Regions from separate parts of the Homo sapiens genome. Here region 1 is linked to region 2. Evidence: promoter capture Hi-C in 16 types of primary human blood cells and fetal thymus (Javierre and others, 2016). All regions are on one chromosome and are shown on one strand. Each heading gives the region's core, a stretch centred on a gene start or on the middle of the fragment in contact. The rest is flanking DNA. Distances are from core to core; before and after follow the strand shown.

Evidence for each region. Contacts are between HindIII fragments. The CHiCAGO score rates a contact against its expected background, and 5 or more counts as called.
Region 1: a fragment that was not itself captured here is called in contact with the fragment with the promoter of SSTR1 in region 2 in 1 of 17 cell types (neutrophils); the score reaches 5.5 in neutrophils.

What each region holds. Positions count from the first base shown.
Region 1 is chr14:38,019,153-38,025,357 of GRCh38, forward strand. The region is part of intron 3 of LOC105370456 (a long non-coding RNA gene); the gene reads right to left. Among named protein-coding and RNA genes, the nearest start is that of LINC00517, 120 kb to the left of the region's middle. The HindIII fragment of the contact is 3,430 bases long and covers 541-3,970 here.
Region 2 is chr14:38,203,236-38,209,855 of GRCh38, forward strand. It overlaps SSTR1 (somatostatin receptor 1), which reads left to right and starts at 4,669. Exons shown (of 3, transcript NM_001049.3): 1 at 4,669-4,869; 2 at 5,208-5,374; 3 at 5,811-6,620. The coding sequence starts at 6,155. It overlaps LOC124903303 (a long non-coding RNA gene), which reads right to left and starts at 6,052. Exons shown (of 2, transcript XR_007064117.1): 1 at 5,847-6,052; 2 at 3,980-5,041. RefSeq lists a silencer at 69-363 and enhancers at 4,471-5,132, 6,116-6,620. The HindIII fragment of the contact is 9,392 bases long and covers 4,325-6,620 here.

The DNA.
Region 1 (6,205 bases), core at 1,006-3,505, 190 kb before region 2:
GGAACGAAAGACACAAGGACTTTATTTTGCTAAGCCTAGTGAAAAAGGAAAATGCAAGTTCTCCAGATAGTAATGACATCCCCAATGAGCACTTCAACTACAAAGGAAGCAAAACTGAGTTAAAATTCATATGTCTGCAGGGGCTGATCATGAGACCGTTTGTAGAAAAGCTGGAACAGAAGATGCTGTTTAGCTCTACCTGTAAGGGTCTTGCCAGACATTGTATAAACATTTAACTCAAGGAGGAGCAAGAAATAGTGCCCATTATCTTCTGTGATAACACAGCATCTGATTACTTGTTCTCTCAGATACCCTGCAGTTCAGAGTATTAATTTCTCTATACCTTGAAGTGGCTGATAGCAATATCTTTCAGGTCTTTAATTAAAGGCTAAAAGCTGATTCTAGAATCTCTCCATTGTCTGGAGCTATTCTGATACAAACTCAACTTGCCACAAAGAATCTCTGAAAAAAAAAAAAAAGAAAATGAAAGAGAAAATAGTTGAAAAGAAAAATACCAGGTATTTAATTCAATCTCCATTAAGCTTTCCCTTCACATATAATCTTTGAGTTAGACAGTTCCTCTCCCATAAGGATAACACTTTCTTGTCACTAATCCCTGGATAACACAAGTCAGGGGAAACAGGAAATAGATACAATAATAGATTCGAGTCTCTGGATTTTTCATTTAGCCAATAGTAAGGTAGGAAAGTGGCCAGATAAAAAAATAAAACAGCACAGACAGAAAATATCTATTTGTCCATGGAGAGAACACAAGCACTTGATGGACAGAAGCCCAGAATATACAGGATTGTTTTTTCACACATAAAGCAATATTTTAAATACTCTGTGGTGTATTCATTTTAACTTAATCGAGCAAATGCAAATACATTAAAGAGTCCCATAGCAGCACTATTTTTAATAGCAACAAACAGAAAATAACTTGTTTATACTGTGACTATTATTTAGATATTATAGGTCACTAATTATTTAGATCAGGGGTCAATAAACTATGTTTTGTGGGCCAAATCCCGCCTATAGCCTGTTTTTGTCAAGTTTTATCAGAGTACAGCCATACCCATCAGTTATGTATTATCAATGGCAGAGTTGAATAGTTGTGACAGAGACCAAATATTTCACAAAGCCTGAAATATTTGCCATATGATTCTTTACAGAAAAAAAATCTGACAACCAGCAATATAAATGGTTGCACATATATTCAATGGAACACTCTGTTACAATTAAAAGAATGTAAAAGGTTGGTATATAACAACATAAAAAGATATCGATATCAAGAAAAAATGATTCAAAACAGTGTGTATGTAAGTATTTTCAGATTCCGTTTGCCTAAAAACAAAGCATATGCATATGCATCAAACTTCTGAAAGCATATACACACACAAAAATTTAATAATGATTACCTCTGGTGAATGAAATTAGGAAGTAGGACTGGGGAGAGGGAGAATGAAGAAAGGAGGGAGAATGAAGAAAGGAAAGAGGGAGAAACATTTATTTATATTTAATATCCCTCTATATCATCACAAATTTTAAAATGCCCATGTTATATAATTGAAAATAAACTAAAATGAGAATTATAGAAGCAATAGGAATTTAAGAATATTTTATTTGTAGAATGAATGAATGTAATTCTCAATGATATAATGCCAATTTTCTTTTCTTATGAATGTTTTTGTTGAATGTTTATGTAATATTTCCTGTGTCTTTGACTAAGAGTATGTGTTATCTCTTGCTTAAATATCTATCTGTGATTTTAGTATCACTATTTGCTTTAGATGATTACAACTTACCTCTTCATTAGTGAAGTGAAAAAAATCGCTAAGACATTTTATAACATATTTTTGCTGTGAGGAATTTCACATAATAGTGTTGTTTTCCAATATGATTTATAAAGCGCTATCTTAAACCTCTCGAGTTTTCACACAAATTTAACAATTTTTGGTGTTTCTAATTGTAGAGAAAGATGTTTGATTTGGGACAAATTATTTAAATATTTCATGATTTCTTAATTTGCAGCATAGAAAAATGTTACCTACCTTACCACATAAAATTTTTGTGTTAAGAAGGTTTTTAAGGGTTCCATAAATTATCAATTATTTCAAATATATTTATTTTGGCACAGTTTTAGTGCAATCAAAATGTGGACAGTCACAAGAAGATTTTTGATTGTAAGTGAGTAAGGAATCAATTAAAACAGTGTTCTAGAAGAACTGTAGTCTTGAATTTTAGACTCTTAGACCACAAACGAACCTGGAAAAGTCACACATAAACTGTACAAAATTAGATAATATGGGCTTCAAACAAAAACAACAGCAAGCTCTCTTTCGGTATGAAAACTCTACTTTTTTTTTTTTTTTTTTTTTTTTAAAGAGCCAGTCCTTGTTTTCTTGTCTCTAAAATGTGGATGGTTATACTGTATCTGCTTGCCAAATTCATAGAATTCTTGTGAAAATTAAATGGATTAATTTATGCTAGAGAAATCTATAAATTATAAATCTCTGTACAATAATTTTTCAAAATATGGTATGCAGATAATTTTCAGGGGGGTGACAAAATTTTTATGTTTTAATGATTACATATCTATATTTACTTCTTGTTTATGATGAGTGATATGCTACTTTTATTGTAGCTTCCTTTGAAATTAATGTATGGAGGTAAAAATGTGAGTCAACTTAAAAGAAAAGAAAATTACTAATACTATAGGTAAAATGTGGATATGACAAAAATCGTGATGATGGTATGTGCACAAGCGAAGTTCAGAAAACATTGCATTGTGAAGATATAAATTTGATTTAGATTTTCATATTTTAGTATATGGTTCTCAACTGGCATTGTTTAATTTGCTGTGGTTGCAAACATATTGTGTTAAAACAAGACATATGGAGCTCTTTTACAGCAAAAGAAGAAAGAAATGAAGAAACAGATGCCTGAAGCATTTGGGAAAGTAACTCCACTGCAGCTGAAATACTGGATGTTGCAGGGTCCATTGTCCCAAGTTAGTATAGGTTGCATTGATTTCATTGAAAGAAGAAAAACAACCATAGTTAGAGGACTGAAAAGTATACTTCTAGAGAGAGAGGGCCTGCAACATTTCTGAGAAATTAACTTTAGTTCACATTACCTTAAAAATTACTCTGGAGAAGTGTGATTTCTATGATGAGCACATCCTACTGCATGTCAGATCTGACTTCCCAGACCTGCCAGCCCAGTGAGACACTAAAGCTGCTTGAATTAAGTACAAGTAGCAACTAGGACATGGGTTGGCCTTTGGGAAACCACTTCTGTGTTTACAACCTAATGCTACTGGAATTCTGATTGAACCTTCATGACTTTAGGTGACAAAGGCATACCAAACTCAGGCTGGGAGGAAATGAGTTGGGGCAGTGGTGCCCATCTTCCTCTATGATCTACAAAGCAAAAATGTCATGCCATACCCCAGCAACAAGCTCACCCTCAAACTTCCTCTGATTCCTTTCCTAGTCTGCCCAGTAGACTGTTCCAAGAGAAGAAGTCCCTTCTCCAGGGCACCTGTACATTTTCCCCTCTTGTTTCCTTAAACCTGTGTTCTGCCTGAAAAGAATGCATTTTTTCCGCTCATCCAATTTCATGCCTTAGGAGTGCAAAAGCAAGCTACTGCATTGAAAATTGAGGAATTGATTCCCAGAGTCTCACAAAGCCCTGAAGCAGAGCAGTTCCAGTCTCTGCCCTTCAGTTAGGATATTGGTGCTTCCTGGTTTCTAGTACCTGCCTGTATGACTACTGATTTCTTATGTCTCTGCAAATTCCGGCGATAAGGAATTGCTTATGCAGCAGTTCAGAGGCAAGATGGAGTATCTCTTTCCATTATTTATTTAAAAAATTCTTTGAAGGCTGCCATTTAACCTCAGCAGGGAAGTTAGGATTTTTCACCCGCACATAGTGATTTTATTCCTCTGAAGCCTTATATGAATTATTAAGCTTTTAAGAAAAGAGAGCAAATAGAGTTTTGCAAGGTAATCAAAAGCAAATATGCTAATTTGGGTCTATAGGACAGTATTTTTATCAGAAGGAACATTAAGGTTAGCTCTGTTATTCATCTAAATTAAAGAAATCAAGAAAAAGAACAAGACTAGCAAATTACCTTTACTGATGGTCGAAATTAGCCCTATCTTGGACTCTTTCTTAATAGTCTTTCTCAGCATAAAACCTAGTTACTAGGATACAGCCGTGTGGCAGCATCTTTATTAGAAATTGTGTGGGAGAAAAAAAGGTCAGATACTCATTTCCAGTAACAGTTTGACAAGTAACACGGAGAAAAGGGCAGGAAGGAATTGAGGCTTGTGATGTTTTCTTATAGCAAGATTTTGAGATAATAGCACTTATGTGAATAGGAAGTCTCCAGGAATACATTTTATTAATCTCAGGGTTCAAAGAAAAAGACATGGTACCATATTATCATGAAAATTAAAACAAGCCTAAAAAGATACATAAATATCAGGTAAAGGACAAAAATATCATCATCTGTCACTGTTAAAATTTTTTTAAATCTTAACTCTAGCTATATCCAAAAGTCTTATAATTATATTGATAGAAGTCACATCTTCAATTACCATAATTGGTCAATAGTCAATAGTTAAAGGGCTTAAGCATTACAGAAAACTTTATAAGACCCAGGTGGGTCTCCTAAATCCCACAAAAAGGTCATTATCCCTCTCTGTACTGGTAGATCTTTGTATCAGAATAGAGATATATTTGTAAAATTTGTACTAATGAAAATTTCTTTGAGTTAAACTCCATCTTATCATTGTCTTCTAATGAAATTAAAGATATATTAATAAATTAGTAGGTTTTAATAATCAGAATTATGCCACTTTAGAGACATACTAATACATTTCCAAAATTCACATAAAGATGTCAAACCTCTATGGTTAAAAAGTCTAAGTTATTAACAATTTACTGTGTAACAAAGAAATCAAGACAATAAAAATACCTGACATTTCAGACACTCGGCCTTATCTCTCCTTTCCTGGGCTTCTCCCTATCTTGAGCATTGCTATTGCACACAAAGGCAGAAGGGGCCAGAACAGTGTTGTACAATTTGGCTTCCAATATGCCTGGCATTGAAACTCAGGTCTGTACTAGCTCCCCAGCAATGGTTCTTAACCAGAGCGGAATGGCTGAAATGACAAACATAGGATTCAGAATCTAGATGGCAATAAATCTCACTGAGATTCAGGAGAAAGTTGAAATGCAATCTAAGGAATCTAAGGGATCCACTAAAATGATTCAAGAGATGAAAGACAAAAATAGCTATTTTAAGAAAGAACCATATGGATCCGATAGAGCTGAAAGACTCACTGCAAGAATTTTATTATATAATCCCAAGTATTAACAGCAGGATAGACCAAGCTGTGGAAAGAATTTCAGAGCTCAAATACTGATGCTTTGAATCAACTCAGACAAAAATAAAGAAAAAAGAATAAATAAAAATGAACAAAACCTCTGAAAAATATAAGATTATGTAAAAAGACCAAACCTATGACTCATTGGTGTCCCTGAAAGAGAGGGAGAAACAGCAAGCAACTTGGAAAATATACTTGAGGATATTGTCCACAAAAATTTCCCCAATCTTGCTAGAGAAGTTGACATTTACATTCAAGAAATTCAGAGAACCCCTGAAAGATACAATACACAATGACCATCCCCAAGACACATAGTCATCAGACTCTCCAAGGCCAATGTGAAAGAAAAAATATTAAAGACAGTTAGAGAGAAGGTGCAGGTAACCTATAAAGGGAACCCCTTTAGGTTAACAGTGGACCTTTCAGCAGAAATCCAACAAGCCAGAAGAGATTGTGGGCCTATATTCAGCATCCTTAAAGAAAAGAATTTCCAACCAAGAATTTTATAGCCAGTCAAGCTAAGCTTCATAAGCAAAGGAGAAATAAAATTATTTTTAGACAAGCAAATACTAAGGGAATTTGTTATCACCAGACCTACTTACAAGAGGTCCATAAGGAAGTGCTAAACATGGAAATAGAAGATCATTACCAACCAAAACAAAAGCACACTTAAGTACACAGACTATTGACACTATAAAGCAACTACACAATCAAGTCTACATAACGACAAGTTAACAACATGATGACAGCATCAAATCTACACATATCCATACTAACTTTGAACATAAATGGGCTAAATACTCCACTTA
Region 2 (6,620 bases), core at 3,419-5,918:
AGAGAAATGCCAAAAAAATTTTTTTAAAGATTTTGAGACAATTATCTGGCGCAGTGGCTCACGCCTGTAATCCCAGCACTTTGGGAGGCTGAGGCAGGCAGATCATGAGGTCAGGAGATCAAGACCATCCTGGCCAACATGTTGAAACCCCATCTCTACTAAAAATATAAAAATTAGCTGGGCATGATGGGCGCCTGTAATCCCAGCTACTCAGGAGGCAGAGGCAAGATAATCACTTGAATCCAGGAGGTGGGGGTTGCAATGAGCCAAGATCATGCCACTGCACTCCAACCTGGGCAACAGAGTAAGATTCGTTCTCAAAAAAAAAAAAAAAAAAAGAAAAGAAAAAAGATTTCGAGACAATAGTTTTAAACTAATGCATCCATCTTAAAATCCTTAACTAACAGACTTTATTACAGAAAAATGTATTACTGATAAGGACTATTCAAAATAATACAGATAACATGAATGTGCTCCTGTTCTGCTTTTATGTTTCCATTATTTGTAATGAATACTTTCCTGTATGTGCTGAATTCTTGTTTTTAGAAATATTATTTTGTAGTAGAGAAAACATAGGGAAGAATAGGAGTTGTTACACCATATGGGTCTTTGCTAAAAGCACAAAAAAAGACTCTGTCATGCTGTTCACAGAAGAGGCAATAGGAAAATCAGTGGGCCAGGGTGAGTTTGCTGAGGTTGGTGATGAACTAAACCACAGGCTACCAAGGCTGCTGTGATTGGGTATTCCTGAGAAATGAAGTCCAGGATTGTTTCTTAGCCCTATAGCCACATTTGTGCTCTGGTAACTTTCTCGTTAGACTGACATCATGTTAACTGCTTAGTGGCAGATGGTCCTTAAGTGACACAACCTTTGCTGTAGGCCATATTGCTGAGTGGTGTTAGCCCCTTATACTCAATTTGGTCCCATCTGTCCAGACAGGTGTTTGTAAACCTGACACTGATTCTGCTGCTGCAGACAATGTTCCAGGAAGTGTACCCTTTAATCCCTGGCTCCAGCCAGCCCTTTATCATTGGTATGAATTAGAGATGCTCATTTAAGGATCAACACAGGCTCTGATTGGAAAAACCACATTAGTAATGATTTTGACATAAGCAGAAGTTGAGGTGCTGATAATTACTATTCCACCAAACGAACTGAGGCTCAAAACTGCTATTAAAAGGAAATGATCTTCCATGTATGATGACTTTCACACTGCATGACACTATTAAATAACCATCATTAGCTACTAATGCATGTACTACCCATTTTCCAGAGCCCTTTCTCTGCTGAGAAATTTAAGACCAAGAATGATCAATGAATGAGTCATCAGTATGACAATTGTTGATATAGGACATGCAAATTGAAATTATTTAGAATAATTTAAGTGTATAAGGAATTAATACACATGATGATATTCCTCAGCTAGTAAAGCTCTACTTATAAGGAGCTCACAGTTTATTTCTTTGCATCTACATTTTATAATCTAGAAAAGAGGAAAGTACTATCCATGGGATGCCTTGACAAAATAAAACAAGGTGATTTGGGGCAATTTTGTAGGTACTGCACTAGATGCTGGGGATAGAAAAATAAATAAAATGCAAGCCCCTGGTCTCCACAAGCTTACAAATTTATAAGAGGGTACAGACAAGTACACAAAAAGCCACAGTACAGTGTGATAAATATAATAATCAAAGTGTGCACCTGGTACATGATAGCACAGGAGAGTATAGCTTGTAGGAGAAAGTTACAGTGAGGGAAGAAAATCAGTCTGCTCAAGAATCTGCAACTTCCTAAATTGGAACATTTCATTTTCCCCTTTCTGGAAAACATCTCCTTCTTTTCTATCTATAAATGTTCATATCACAGAGGCATAGGAAAGATGGTAACCAAAGAGGGCTGGAGGACAGGTAACTTGTAGGGAGAAAACAAGCTCTTCCTAATCTTTTCAAGGTTTTAGACATGTGAACCTAAAAAGTTTTTAACAAGACAAGAAGATTGTTGAGTCCTGACTATTCACTGGCTGCGTTTTTTGCAAATTAAAGTGATCTCATGCCCATATCAGTTTTCCTTTTTCTTTGGAAATATTTACATTAAATTGAGATCTGAGGGGAAGATAGCGCTCTAACTGGGATCCTGCTTTTAATATAATTTGAAAATAGCTGCAACCCCAATCCACCTTCCTGGTGGCCCAGAAATGCCACCCTTTTTGTTTGTTTGTTTGTTTTTGTTGTTCATAGATTAGTTCACAAATACAATAATTAGAAATACATGACTGGGCTGAGCACGGTGGCTCACACGGGTAATACCAGCACTTTGTGAGGCTGAGACAGGAAAATTGCTTGAGCTAGGAATTCCACACCAGTCTGTGCAAGATAGGAAGACCCCATCTCTACAAAAACCTTAAAAATTAGCCAGGCATCGTGGGGCACACCTGTAGTCCCCAGCTACTCCAGAGGCTAAGGTGGGAGGATCACTTGAGCCTGAGACATCAAGGCTACAGTGAGCTGTGATTGTGCCACTACACTCCAGCCTGGGTGATAGAGCAAAACCCTGTCTCAAAATAATAATAATAATAATAATAATAATAATAATAATAATAATTTAAAAATAAATACATAACTGAAAAGATTTAATAATGCTGCATAGCTTATATCCATCTCAATCCCTCTCTTTGTCTTTCTCTCATGCTTTTTAAAATTGAAGTAAAACTCCCATAATATAAAATTTATAATTTTAGTCATTTTTGAAGTGTACAATTCAGGGATTTTTAGCATATTCACAATGTTATGCAATCATCACCACTATCTAATTCCAGAACATTTTCACCACTCAAAAAAGAAAGCTCATACCCATTAAGCAGTCCTTCCTCTTTCCCCTCTGCCCCCAGCCCCTGGCAACCACTAACGTACCTTGTCTGTATGTATTGCCTGCCCTGGGCATGTCATATAAATGGAATCATGCCACACGTGGCCTTTTGTGTCTGGCTTCTTTCCCTTTGCATAGTGTTTTCAAGCTTCGTCTACGCTGAAGCAGGTATTAGTACTTCATTTCTTTTTATGGTTGAATACTATTCCATTGTATGGATATACCACAATTTATTAATTCAGCAATTGATGGATATTTGGATTGTTTCTAATTTTTGGCTATTATGAATAGTGCTGCTATGAATGTTCATGCACAAGTTTTTGATTAAACACCTGTTTTCAATTTTGAGGAGTAAATAGAAGTGGAATTGCTGGCTCATATGGTCATTCTTTTAAACTTTTAAACTTTTTAAGCAATTGCCAAAATTTTTTTCTGAAGTTGCTGCATCATTTTTTATTCCCACCAGCAATGTATGAGTGTTCTAATTTCTCCACATTCTCACTAACGTTTATTTTTTGTTTTTAAAAATGTTCTTATAGCCATCCTAGTGGGTGAAAAGTGGCATCTCAAAAAAATAAAAATAAAAAGCATTCTCACGTCAGGTCTTAAGTTTTCTTCTTTTGTATATGAGGCCACAAAATTGAGAGAAATTTTCCCTAAGATGAGCTGAAAGTGAATTTAATGAAATTCTGAACAACAGAGCTGTTTTTCACTGACTCCCATCACACACTTCCCAAAGAGCAACCATGATCAAAGCCAAGGCATCTAAATAATGACTGTTGAAATCCAAGCTCCCAGAGGTACAGATAGTCAGGTGTCTTTAGTCAGTGATTGGCAGAGGCATCTAAGGCATTATATGAGGCTTGGCTAGTAAAATGCTCTTCTGGGATTCTGGGACAATACCCACTCTCTTTTCTTTTAACTTAATGAACATTTATTTTCTCTCCATATGTGCTGTATTTGTAAAGGAAAAATAAATATAACTAAACACCAATTGTACATTCCACTTTAAAGAAGGCAATTTGTTCAGGTAAAATAATGGGTTAAAACAGTTTCAGCCGTATGAAATTTCAAATTCCATCCTAGCACATTCCTCATTAATAATTGCACACATTCCTATGAAAGTCTGTCATTTATTTTAGTCTTTGATTGCTATCATCAACACACTACAGAAGTTATTCTTTCCTGTTCAAGACAATTAGTTTTGGGAACTAAAACACATGCAGTATATGTAAGTGATTACCTGGATAAAGCAACAGGGCATTAGGAAATATACTTTTTTGTTTTTAATTTCTGCATCCATTTCTTCATTCTGGACCGGTACAGATAGCCTCCATGAGGAGTTTAGCCTCTCCTTGGAGTAAACTCTACTGAGAGGAGGAAAACTGAGACTTACAGTACAGCGGGCACAGCCTGGTTGAGGAGAAGGAGAAACTAAGGAAAAACTGGAGACAGCAAAGCTTGAAGGAGGCAGAGCACTAAGCTGCTGCGGGTCACTCTTCCTGTGAACAGGCTAGTTTCAAATAAAGGCTTGCAGGGATCTTACCGAGCAAAGCAACGTTTATGAAAAGGAACAGGGAAGTTGCATGGAGTGTGATTCTTCCTTCCACAGGAACAGTTGGAAAGCCAAAGAGACCCTAGAGTAAGAATGGTGGTAAGTCCCAGGGTTCGTTTAAAATCCTGATAACGGAACATACATTCTTTCTTACGGGAAAACCGTTTTGATTCTTAAATGAAGTCAGTGAGCTTCAGGCTTGCCTACATTGATATCTCCTAATGGTTTGGGCACGTGACCCAGAGCCAGCTCACAAATCAAGCCTCAGAAAGAGCTGACATCCTAGCTCTTCCCGGAAAAACTCGAATGTCGCCCTGCCGTTCCTGGGGTTGGTGACAGGTCTGGTCATCGCACGGCGGCAGCTCCTCACCTGGATTTAGAAGAGCTGGCGTCCCCGCCCGCCCAAGCCTTTAAACTCTCGTCTGCCAGAACCCGCCAACTCTCCAGGGTACAAAGTACAGCAGGGACGCGGGTGGAGCCCTTCCAAGCGGCGCAGCCTTATCTTTCCCGAGTGAACACCTAGGTGGATTCCCAACACCGCGCCTGGCACGTTTCTGGAGGGAGTCTCAAGCTCCTCCAGAGCTCCCAGCTGCGCGTCCTCGTTTCTGCAGTCGATATTCCTGTGGGAGACACGGGGGGCTCTGAGCGCTACGAGCTTTATTAAGAGATTTGCGAATGGTTCACTCAGGTCCCTGAACACTCCCAATAGCCTAAGCTGCCTGCTGTGTTATAGCGCAGAAGCCCCTAACGCACGGTGGTTGTCCTTTCTTCTCATAACGCTCGCAGCTTAGGGCCAGTTTCCGCGATTCTAAGAGTAATTGCGTGGGCACCTGTGCTGGGGCCAGGCGCAAAGAAGGGAGTTGGTCTGCGCGAAGATCGTCAACCTGCTAACAGACCGCACATGCACTTTGCACCGACCATCTACGTCTCAGTCTGGAGGTTGCGCACTTTGGGTAAGGAGGGCCCGGAACTTCCCTGGCGGGTCTGAGCTGCAAGGCAAGCGAGGGTGGGAAGAGGGAATTTAGGGTTCTGGACTGCGGGACGGGAGAGAAGCTGGGGTCTCCAGAGAAAAGGGCAGCAATGGAGGGAAACTGAGATGAACTCCAGACATCCATGTTCATGGATCCGTTTGAGTCTTTGCTTTGGGTAGGAGAGGAGTGGAATGAGACAGAATCTATACCTTTGGTTCCCACCCGCCCTCCAGTAAGGCCGAGGAACTCTCTTGGTTCCTCTGAGAGCAAGAGGCAGATGGTGCTGCGAGGGAACCCCGGAAGGAGCCACTAAAGTTGAGCAGAGTGCAGGACTGGGAAGGAAAAAAATGGGGGGCGGGGGGGACAAGCCACCTATGTGCTCTCCTCCCTTTCTCCACCCCACCCCCTTTTTTCGTAGCTGCTGACGCGCTGGTGGTGCCTATTAATCATTTACCAGTCCAGAGCCGCGCCAGTTAATGGCTGTGCCGTGCGGTGCTCCCACATCCTGGCCTCTCCTCTCCACGGTCGCCTGTGCCCGGGCACCCCGGAGCTGCAAACTGCAGAGCCCAGGCAACCGCTGGGCTGTGCGCCCCGCCGGCGCCGGTAGGAGCCGCGCTCCCCGCAGCGGTTGCGCTCTACCCGGAGGCGCTGGGCGGCTGTGGGCTGCAGGCAAGCGGTCGGGTGGGGAGGGAGGGCGCAGGCGGCGGGTGCGCGAGGAGAAAGCCCCAGCCCTGGCAGCCCCACTGGCCCCCCTCAGCTGGGATGTTCCCCAATGGCACCGCCTCCTCTCCTTCCTCCTCTCCTAGCCCCAGCCCGGGCAGCTGCGGCGAAGGCGGCGGCAGCAGGGGCCCCGGGGCCGGCGCTGCGGACGGCATGGAGGAGCCAGGGCGAAATGCGTCCCAGAACGGGACCTTGAGCGAGGGCCAGGGCAGCGCCATCCTGATCTCTTTCATCTACTCCGTGGTGTGCCTGGTGGGGCTGTGTGGGAACTCTATGGTCATCTACGTGATCCTGCGCTATGCCAAGATGAAGACGGCCACCAACATCTACATCCTAAATCTGGCCATTGCTGATGAGCTGCTCATGCTCAGCGTGCCCTTCCTAGTCACCTCCACGTTGTTGCGCCACTGGCCCTTCGGTGCGCTGCTCTGCCGCCTCGTGCTCAGCGTGGACGCGGTCAACATGTTCACCAGCATCTACTGTCTGACTGTGCTCAGCGTGGACCGCT